Linked DNA regions of Homo sapiens: regions 2 and 3 are each linked to region 1. Evidence: promoter capture Hi-C in 16 types of primary human blood cells and fetal thymus (Javierre and others, 2016). All regions are on one chromosome and are shown on one strand. The core of a region is centred on a gene start or on the middle of the fragment in contact, and the rest is flanking DNA. Distances in the headings are between cores, read along the strand shown.

Region 1 (3,537 bases), core at 554-3,053:
TCCTCCTAGACTGTCAATGCACAAACGATCAACCAATCCCATACTGGACTCATTACCCGCTCCCCACTGGCCCACTACCACCACGGCCACACTCCAAGCCTGCTTTTCCTTCTGAATTCCCTGTCTTGGATAATACTCTACCACCCACCCTTGTCTCCCAGCCTGGAAACTCAAGGTCAGTCTCAGTCACCAAGTCCGGTTCCCTCTACCAGTTTCCTGAGCAGCAACAGGTTGTTCCCTGGGAGGCTGGAATTTTTCTTCTTTTCTCTACTTTTGTTTTCTGAATGTTCTCTGATGAACACTTATGACTTGCATAATGTTTATTATGTTTCCTAATAATTAATGGGTTTCATAATGGCTTATTATTCTAAAACAAATCTACCTTGATTGTTCCTGCTTGCCCATCCCCGAGGGCCTCCTATCCAGCCCTCCCCTTCCAGTCCCTCTGCCTTTTGGGCATCTTCCATATTACCACCTAGCTCCCCTCACCAAAACATTTCTCCAAGATTACCTCCTACCATCTCCACTCCATAGTCCCCAAATATCAGAATTGTTGAGAAGTGTTTGTCCACTTGTTTGCTTCAGCTCCCCTATTGTATTGTCAGCTCTTGTTCATACTGAATCCCTGGGGCCTGGCACAAAGTAAGTGTTGAATAAACATGAATTAAATGGATCAAGGCCAGGAGTTGAGTAACTGGTATAAGGTAGGGAATTTCTATAGAAATGATCTCAAAGTGTGCTTGGCGGACTAGCATTTTCAGTATGGCCTGGGAACTTGTTAGAAATGTAGATTCTTGGTGGGGCGTGGTGGCTCACGCCTGTAGTCCCAGCATTTTGGGAGGCCAAGGTGGGTAGATCACCTGAGGTCAGAAGTTCGAGACCAACCTAGCCAACATGGTGAACCCTTGTCTCTACTAAAAATATAAAAATTAGCCAGGCATGGCTGCACATGCCTGTAATCCCAGCCGCTGGGGAGGCTGAGGCAGGAGAATCGTTTGAACCTGGGAGGCAGAGGTTGCAGTGAGCCGAGATCATGCCACTGTACTCCAGCCTGGGCGACAGAGTGAGACTCTGTCTCAAAGAAGGAAAGGCAAGGAAAGGAAGGAAGGAAGGAAGGAAGGAAGGAAGGAAGGAAGGAAGGAAGGAAGGAAATGAAGAAAGAAAGAAAGAAATAAAGAAGAAAGAAAGAAAGAGAGAGAGAAAGAGGGAAAGAGGGAGAAGGAGAGACGGAGGGAGGGAGGGGGGAAGGAAGGAAGGAAGGAGGGAGGGAAGGAAGGAAGGAAGGAAGGAAGGAAGGAAGGAAGGAAGGGAGAGAGGGAAAGAGGGAAGGGGAGAGAGGGAGGGAAGGAGGGAGGAAGGGAGGGAGGGAGGGAGGAAGGAAGGGAGGGAGGGAGGGAAGGAGGGAAGGAGGAAGAAAGGAAGGAAGGAAGGAAGGAAGGAAGGAAGGAAGGAAGGAAGGAATTCGGATTCTTGGGCCCTTCCTCAGACCTACTGAATTAGAAGCTCTGGGGGTATTTCGATAACAAGTTTATGTTTCCAGACATGTCTTGCCACAATCACAAATAAGACTCTTTTTCGCAACTGAACTACACAAACCTTAGCAGGCTCGTGGCGAAACCACTGGAAAGCATTTAATCAGCTTCAGCTCTTTCAAACATGTTGCCCATAGGTTGCAGAAACGCAGCTGCCTCTCAGGATTAGAAAGTGGAGCAGCAACCGGAGGCGTCTCTGGGCCGCCCCCCCAACCCCCCCACCCCGCCTCGCCCACTCCACCCTCACACTGGCGTTGCCACAGTCCCTCCATTCCAGAGGGAATTCCAGAGCGGAATACGGATTCCGATTTTAAAATAAGCGCTTCTAAATCTTTCTCCTTGCATCTAAGACGGGTGGGGGAAAGAAAGGGAGAGGAGTTGAGGTCCCAAGGTTCAAGGCCTGGTGATCTCCAGGTCCCAGGCTGGGCGGCCTCGGTGCACGGAGAGGGCGAGGGGCGTGTTGTGGAGCCTTGGCAAGGCGCTGCTCTTCCTCGCGCCTCGGTTTGCGGTCTGTGAAATGGGGTTGGCAGTGCCTTTGCAGGGACGCGGCGAACTCAAGCACCAGCAAGCGGACTCGAACTCAAAGGGTTTCAGGGTGTAGACGACCAGAGCGCACTGAGGGGCTCCAGGTCGGCCCGCTCCGGAGCCGGGAGAGTAACCGCGTGCAGGGAAAGGCGCACGGCAGCCTCGGTGCCTCCCTTCCCTCCACCGGACGGGTGACTGACTAGGGGTGAGGTCCTCACCTCCAGGCTGCGCAGCTGAGTTCTGGAAGGTACTGTCCTGGGGGTGTGAGTGTGTGGGCCCTCAGGAAAGGTGCGAGGGGCGGATGCCGTGGTCTACCCGAGCTTGCGGGGGTGCGGTGGTCAAGTTCCCCAGGACCCTCGCTGGCGCCGCTTGTCGACAACGGGGAACAGTGGGCGCCGCGGGTGGTGGTAACTTGGCCCGGGAAGAAAACACATCCCTTTCCCAAACCGGATTCCTCTGAGCAAAACCAGATGGTGTCATCCGCATTTTACAGCTGCGTCAAGAGAGGCCCAGGACACCAAGAGCCAGCTGTGGCCAGAGCCCTTTCACTGACCCAGAACACTGGCCCTCGGAAACCTGGAGAACTGCGAGGGCTTTTAATGCGGCTGAGAAGAAAGTGAAGACCCCGACTCCTCCTCTCTCCTTCGAAAGAGCCGACACAGGTATGAAGACCAGCGCCTCGGACGCTCCGGGGTAGGGGGCCGACGCCCCCTCCCTTTCAGAATCACGCCTTGCTGATGCTCAGTCCTGCCCAGTGTCCACCCCCCACCCCCGCCCCCAGTTTCCTTTCTAGCCCCTCCGGTCCCCAAAGCGAACTAAGCTAGCGGCAGCTTCTCCATCCCGGAGGAGACTCCAAACTCCTAGGTTTCCCACCTTGGAGAGTACTGCTCTGGAATGCGCAGGGGAGCGGCACCTGGAAAGGGTTGGGCGGAAGCTTCTCGGACCCAGAGGGGGCGGACACCCGGCACCGCGCGTGGGAGGGATTAACTCCACCCCACTAGACCACCTCCCCCTCTCTCCCAGGAGCCACTTCAACCGGTTGTCGCCCCAGTGGCCGCCCTCTGAGCACGTGTTACTGCCAGTCTGCGTCAGCGTTGGGTAAATACATGACTGGCCGACGCCGCCGGGTGGGGCTATTTAAGAGACAGCCGCCCGCTGGTCCTCCCTGAACTTGGCTCAGCTGCCGGGCTGCTCCGGTTGGAAACGCCAAGCCAGCTGCGTCCTAATCCAAAAGGTAGGTCCCTCGGTTCGTCAGCGGGGGATCCAAGTGTCGTGTGTCTTTGAAGGATGCTGTCTTCAGCTTTGTGCCCATTTCCATTATGCTTTTCTATTTTCTGTGTCTTCCCTCCGAGAGCTCGAAAGACATTTCTTGAAGTCAGAAATAACGGCTCTGGGTCTAAAAGTGAGGTCTGGGTGGGTAGAGCTGCTTTAGAGCCTTTCATACGCCAGCATCATTAAGGGATGAACTACCCATTCGCTA
Region 2 (3,456 bases), core at 47-2,546, 130 kb before region 1:
AGCCAGGCAGATCAAGGCCTTCTTATTGCTGAGGTTCCCAGTGAAGGAAGCTAATTAAGCTAACAGGCAGCCACGTGTTCTCCAAAGCTCGGTTGGTCAGCTCTGCAGGGTTGGGGCAGACAGGAAGGGAGAAGACTAAGATCACACATGGCCCCAAGGAGTCCCTTCTGCAATGTCTGCCCTGAGCTATGGAGAGCCTTGGGATTTCTGAAAATACCTGTGTGTATGTTTCCCTGCCACTCTGTAACTATGAGGGGCCAGAGGTCCACAGCCCTGTCTTGCACTGTGGGACCTCCTATCCTGGAAGACCCGTGGAAACCGGCCCGCTGAGGGGTGGGATGACGAAACAGGATTTCTAATGGCGTACAGCTGGCCTGAGTGACTCCCCACCCTGCAGGTAGGGACTGGAGAACCTGAAGTCTGGGTGCTGGCATGGGGACCCAGAACAAGGGAATCACTTTGACAGGCACCAGGAGAAAAGGTTAGAGAAACTCAGTGCAGCTGACTTAGGTGGGGCTAAAGAGTTGGAAGGAATTTTGGAAGGTGAAGAGCGGAGCAGGTACGTGGAAAGGTGAAAGGGGCCCTGGCCCAGGGGACAAAGGTTCTATTTGCAGGCCTAGGGTCTGCCAAAGACTCATCATGTGACTCTGGGAAAGTCACGGAACTTCTCTGAAGCTTACTTCAGAGAAGCAAATGATACCTCCGTTGCAGGGTTGGGGGAGAATTTCACAGTTCACAGTTCAGCCTCCTCATCTCACCATGTGGGGTTTATGGAATGAGTTGGGGGCTGATGTGGGCACTAGGATGGAGGAAGCACCAGTATTCAAGCCAGGATGTGATGAAGACAGCACTGGAGATGCACAAAAGCCTTCAGAATCGTGCCCACGGCAGAGGTGGAAAACTCAAAGGCTCCAAGGGGCAGGCAGGTGTAAATGGCCTGAATGGGGCTGTGAAGCCCTGGAGACCCTGAGTTCTGACTTTGAGGAGCCCTTCCTGTTCACTTCTCTCCACAGGCCCACCTGGTCCCGGTACTGCCAGTACTCCGATACCCTGGCACGGTGGCTGGATGGTTGCAAGCTGTAGCCACCTGCATGGCCCCTGCAGCACTCACCAGTTGCATCTTGTGAATGAAGGTGCTTTTCTGCTTGCTGCTTCAGTCAATCCTTTTGATGATCTCACCACTTTAAGAGTTCCAGATGGAAAAAGACAAAAGTTTGCTTCATCCGGGGATGCAGGATGCAGAATAAACCAAACTAGTTACTCAACTTGGGCCAAAGGTCTCTGCTTTGATTATGATTATTTCTGTAATCACCATTATTTACTATTATTGTGATTTATTATTATTTAATCTCATATGGAGGAATTGAAGGAAGGAAATTATCTGAAAAACAAGATGTGTCCATGAATGTCAATACTAAACAGGAAAAGGAAGAACAGGTACAGTGGAACCAAAGAGGAAAGAAGAGAGGAAGAGAGGCTGGCACAAGCAGGGCCTTCAGCCAAGGCGTGTCCACACTGGGACACACGGGGAAGGGAGAGACCACAGAATCCTCTTTGCACGTCTATGAAGGGAATCAAATGACAGTTGCTCATTTCTTATAAAAAGTCTCTGAAAGTTATAAATAACACATATTTGCATTAGAGAAATTTGGGAAAATACAGAAATGTTAAAAAGGAGAAAAATTTTCCTATAATCTCAGTACTCAAAGACAATTGCTGTTATGTTTTGGTTGCATTTCCTGCTGATCTTTTTTCTGTATAGGTTTTTTATTCTTTTTCAAAAATGCCATGATAATGTTGTAGTTAGAGAGTTTTGCATCTGACTTTTTAGAAAGAAAACAAACAAATAAGGTAAGACACTTTTCCCCTACATCTGTTTCAACTTTAAGTAGCAAGGGGCTTATTTTAAAAGCTTAGTGGCTTACAGCTTATTTCATGGGATGGAGTACAGCTGTCAGCCTGGGCTTCCTGGACACACCTGCCTGAGATCTGGTAGCAGCAGCAGCAAGAGCACAGGTATCTGCTCAGCAGGTCAGGTCACCTATGGGACCCACACCATCATGGGGGTTGGAGAACATAGTTCTTCACCTTTCAGTCCTCATACAGGAAGAAAAGAACTAGAGTAGTATGGAGAAAGCCTGTCAGTCACATGTGCTTCACCATGGTGTTGTAGTTCTTCAAAGTGAAATTTTAGTGCCAGTGAGTATTTCAGTATATGACACACCATATTTTATTTAACTTTTGCTCTACTCTTAGATGTTTTCTTTTTTTCTTTTCTTTTTTTTGAGACAGAGTCTTGCTCTGTCACCCATTGCTGGAGTGCAATGGCGCGATCTCGGCTCACTGCAGCCTCCACCCCGCAGGTTCAAGCGATTCTTCTGACTCAGCCTCCCGAGTAGCTGGGATTGCAGGCACGCACCAACAACACCTGGCTAATTTTTGTATTTTTAGTAAAGACGGGGTTTCACCATGTTGGCCAGGATGGTCTTGAACTCCTGACCTCAAGTGATCCACCCGCCTCGCCTCCCAAAATGTTAGGGGTGTGAGCCACCGATCTTGGCCATGTTAGATCTTTAGGTATTGCCATTTTAAAAACCATTACAAAGAGTGCTGAAGTCCCTGTTTGGGGCTGCCCCTTTTTATTTCTCACATTTTAAAAATTACCCCAACAACATATATTTAATGAAGAAAACCTGGGTAGCATAAGTAGTCATAAAAAAGGAAATTAAGAATATCCCCTCACTGGAAACAGAAGTTTTCATCATTGTCATGTTGCTAAAGTGGGCAATCCTGACTTAGGAAAAGAAACTTTTCGTGTGTATATCTTCCCTGCTTTCGTGTGTGTGCACATTTTTCCCCTTACAGACATGGACTACTACTAAACATACAGTTTTGTATCTTCCTTTTTTCACTCAATATTTTGTGATCTAATATTTCCAGGTCTACAGCAGGGATCCTAGCACCATTTTTAACAACGGCACAGCTTTCCATTATATAGACAAACTATGATGTATATAACTCTTTATTGTTACTCTTTGTAATTTAGAAAAAAATTGAAGAAATTAGGTAAAAAGTGGCTACGTGAAAGGCAGGCAAGATCCAAATCAATTCAGCCTTTCTTTTTGTCTTAACCTTGGTTACTTTCAGAAGGAAGAAATGGCTGTAAGTTAGAATTTCAGAGACAGAACTTTTACTCAAGTTCAGTAACGACTGTTGAGCTTAATCAAACAGTTTTGTGTGGCTTTCCCTCCTCTCTAGAGAAGAGGGTATTCTATATTCCCCAACCACACAGCATGAATCATACAGTAAAATTACTGGCAGTGGCACTTGCAGTTGAGATCAATGTGAAGCTTTGATCAACTTTTTTATTGAGCTGGGAACCCCACATTGCTTCCGAGGGTAGGTCCAAGAACGATAATGCACACGACCTCAATCCAATCTTAACCCAGAATTAAT
Region 3 (3,260 bases), core at 393-2,892, 180 kb before region 1:
CACCCCAAAGCCTTGTCAACTTTCCAGACTTCGTGACCCATGGACCTAAGATTCTGCTGAAAGAGTCTTCCACAAGACGTTAATATTTTCTGCAGCTGGGAGAAACAGCTCCCACCACTCTTGCAAATTACTTCCACTCCAAATGAGAAGCAGTCCTGCAGCCTGGCTGCTTAGAATATGTGGGGATTTGCGAGGGAGGCATTGCTGGCACTCTTCTGGGGCCATTACTTCCCTTTGGTGCCCATCCTGAGTGTCCAAAATGCATCGCCTAATCCCCCTTCACACATCTTGATGTGTTCCTGCATTCCTGGCAGACTACTGCTGATGCCAATGATGGCAGGAGACTCCTGAGCACTCGCTGTGGTGGGCTCACCATCTCCATGGTACTGGCAATGTCTTTGCCTTGCACTGCCCTCACATCACAAGGCTGCTGCAGCGGGCTCCTGCTCTGGAATCCCTCAGCCCATGCATTGCTGTGGTTGCCCTGCAGGAGACGCTGCCACAGCCTCCCAGGCTGGAGCTCCATGTGCTGACCTAGCCAGGACCAGGCCCTCAAGGCCCAGGTAAGGATATGGTGCCAGCCCTTGGGACTCCTCTGAGAACTCACCATGTGGAGCAACTGGAACACTCATAGACCGCCTGGAGGAGTGTGAAATGCTACAACCACTTCAGAAAATTACTTGACAGTTACGTAAAAAGTTAAGTGTTTACTTGCCTTATAACTTAGGTCGATCTGTCCTATAATTATCCTCCTAGGCATTTAATCAACAGCAGTGAAAAGCAATATCCGCATCCAGTATTGTGCAAAAATATTCGTGAGATTTTATTCATAATAGTTCAAGACTGGAAACACACTAGGTGTCCCTCAACAGATGAATGGACAAATTATGGTGTATTCCTGTAATGGAATACACCTCACAGCAATAAGAAGAAATGAATGACTGATGCACCCCACAGGAATGAATCTCACAGACATAATGCTGAATGAGAGAACCCAGACACAAAAGAGGTTATGCTCTATGATCCCATTTATATGAAGCTCTAGAAAATGCAAACTAACCTATCGTGATAGAAATCAGAACAGTGATTTGCTTCAAAATGGGAGGTAGAGGAATTGGGGGCAGATTCCTGGGAACTTCTCTGTATCTCAGCCTCCAGCCTCCTCAGCCCTTTGCAGATACCTTAAGATGCCGCACACCCTACTTTGTTGGCTCCATCCATGGTGAGCTGGGGGAGAGATTTGGGCAGCGGTAAAATCTACTACAGACCTATAATTCCAGGGACTTTAAAATTCCAGAGGCTGTGTAACAGGGAATGTTATCAATTCTCAACAGTCATTTTCTTCTTTTATTCCTGATTGTAGCTGGGCACACTGCCAATCAGCCAAGTGATTACTTACTCCAGCTTCTCTTGCAGCAAGATGAGACTGTGTCACTAAGAGATGGCATATGTGACTTTCCAGAAGAGGGAAAGAACTGCTCTTTTTCCTCCTTCCTCCCTCTTGCTGCTTGGAACACATATATAATGGCTGAGGCTCCAGCAGCCCTCTTGGACCACAAGTTTGAAAGTCACCTGCAGTGAACGCAGAGGGAATTCCAGAAGGAGCTTTATGGAACTGTTACAACAGTCCTGACCTGCCTGCCTCTGGAATTTTGTTGTTGTTGTTTAACAAAATAAAATAAAATTCTGTGTTTTGGCCACTGTGAATTGGGGTTTTTGGTTACTTGCGGTCACACTCAACCCCAAGTGATACAGATTGCAGAGTACGGAAGTTTAAGGGTACAGATTCAGGAACCAAACTGCTGGGCTCACACTCCAGTTTTGCCACCTGCCAACTAGGTGAGTCTGGGATACTCACATGACTTCTTTGCTTCTGTTCCCTCATGAGGAAAATGGAGATAAAAATGCCTACCTCATAGGACTGTTGCAAGGATTAGAAGAGCTGACAGAAGAGAATATAATGCACTTAGAAAATAGTAAGCATCAAGTTCTGTGAACAGTTCCTGGGATAGCAAGTGCTCAGTAAGTATGGACTTTTATTGTTTTTGTGTGGAGGCACATGGTGTGTGTGCATGCATGTGCAATCTTGTCTGCATGACCCTATCAATCCCTACTGGTGTTGTCTGATGAAACTGTCACCCCTCTGACGCCCATGGAATGCTCCCTGCAGGTGGCAACTGCGTCCTCCTCATTTCGACTTCTAAGCCCTCACCCAGAAGTGGAGTCTCATGCTTCCTCGGAGGCAGAGCTTTTCCTTCTCCTGTTGCAGGCTCCGCCAGGCACCCCATGGTTTCTCTCCCCAGCATCGCTTCTTTGTCTTTGTCTTCCTCACCTGCTGGGGTGAGGAGGCTCTTTAGGTTTCCCCTAGAAAGGAGGTGCAAATCGGGATGCCAGATTTAGCAAATAAAAATACATATCACCCGGTTAAATTTGAATTTCAGGTAAACGATAAGTAGTTTTTTATTGTAAGTATGTCCCAAATATTGCTTTTTTTTTTTTTTTTTTGAGACGGAGTTTTGCTCTGTCACCCAGGCTGGAGTGCAGTGGCAAAATCTTGGCAAACTGAAACCTCCACCTCCCAGGTTCAAGCGATCCTCCTGCCTCAGCTTCCCAAGTAGCTGGGATTACAAGCATGCACCACAATGCCCAGCTAATTTTTGTATTTTCAGTAGAGGGGGCGTTTCACCATGTTGGCCAGGCTGGTCTCAAGCTCCTGACCTCAAGTGATCCATCTGCCTCAGCCTCCCAAACTGCTGGGAATACATGCGTGAGCCACCCTGCCCAGCCCCAAACATTGCATTTTATCTGGCAGCTCTAGGCATGGTCCCTAGGATCCCCCACCCCACTCTGCACCCATCTGAGGTCTCTGCTGTATTCTTCATCCCCTATTGGTGACAGGTGGGTGGGTTGGGGAGCAGGGCCATTTTCAGGGAAGCTCCTATTTTCTTTCTCTCTTGCTGCCCCTTATCATTCTCTCCCCACCTCTGCCCTGAGAAACTTCCTCTCTTCTGAAGCAGGCAAAACTAGCCCTGATCTATATCTCAGGCCTTGGAAGTTTCTAGGTTACCTGTAAATTTCCTTTGGGTTCTTACAACTCAAAGTTGACTTTCCAAATTCAAAAGCCAAGCCAAGATTTTGACTCCCTTCTTCTCCCATCCCTGCTGTATCAACCCTTCCCTGCTGGAAGTCTTTGCTGTTGGGGCTGAGGAAGAACTGGGATGCATGAGGAAATGCAGCAAACATTTCCAAGTATCTTCCAG

Evidence for each region. The method cuts DNA at HindIII sites, captures the fragments that hold promoters and counts their contacts. A CHiCAGO score of 5 or more calls a contact.
Region 2: a contact is called between a fragment that was not itself captured here and the fragment with the promoter of CCK in region 1, in 2 of 17 cell types (naive CD8 T cells and naive CD4 T cells). The highest score is 5.5, in naive CD8 T cells.
Region 3: a fragment that was not itself captured here is called in contact with the fragment with the promoter of CCK in region 1 in 15 of 17 cell types (naive CD8 T cells, naive CD4 T cells, fetal thymus and 12 more); the score reaches 18.2 in naive CD8 T cells.

The regions. Positions count from the first base shown.
Region 1 is chr3:42,264,451-42,267,987 of GRCh38, reverse strand. It overlaps CCK (cholecystokinin), which reads left to right and starts at 1,803. Exons shown (of 5, transcript NM_000729.6): 1 at 1,803-2,304; 2 at 2,551-2,719; 3 at 3,081-3,291. The HindIII fragment of the contact is 3,723 bases long and covers 1-2,993 here.
Region 2 is chr3:42,394,892-42,398,347 of GRCh38, reverse strand. It overlaps LYZL4 (lysozyme like 4), which reads left to right. Exons shown (of 5, transcript NM_144634.4): 5 at 1,014-1,265. The coding sequence ends at 1,083. Among named protein-coding and RNA genes, the nearest start is that of LYZL4, 14 kb to the left of the region's middle. The HindIII fragment of the contact is 1,237 bases long and covers 678-1,914 here.
Region 3 is chr3:42,440,108-42,443,367 of GRCh38, reverse strand. No RefSeq gene overlaps it. Among named protein-coding and RNA genes, the nearest start is that of LYZL4, 31 kb to the right of the region's middle. The HindIII fragment of the contact is 4,095 bases long and covers 1-3,260 here.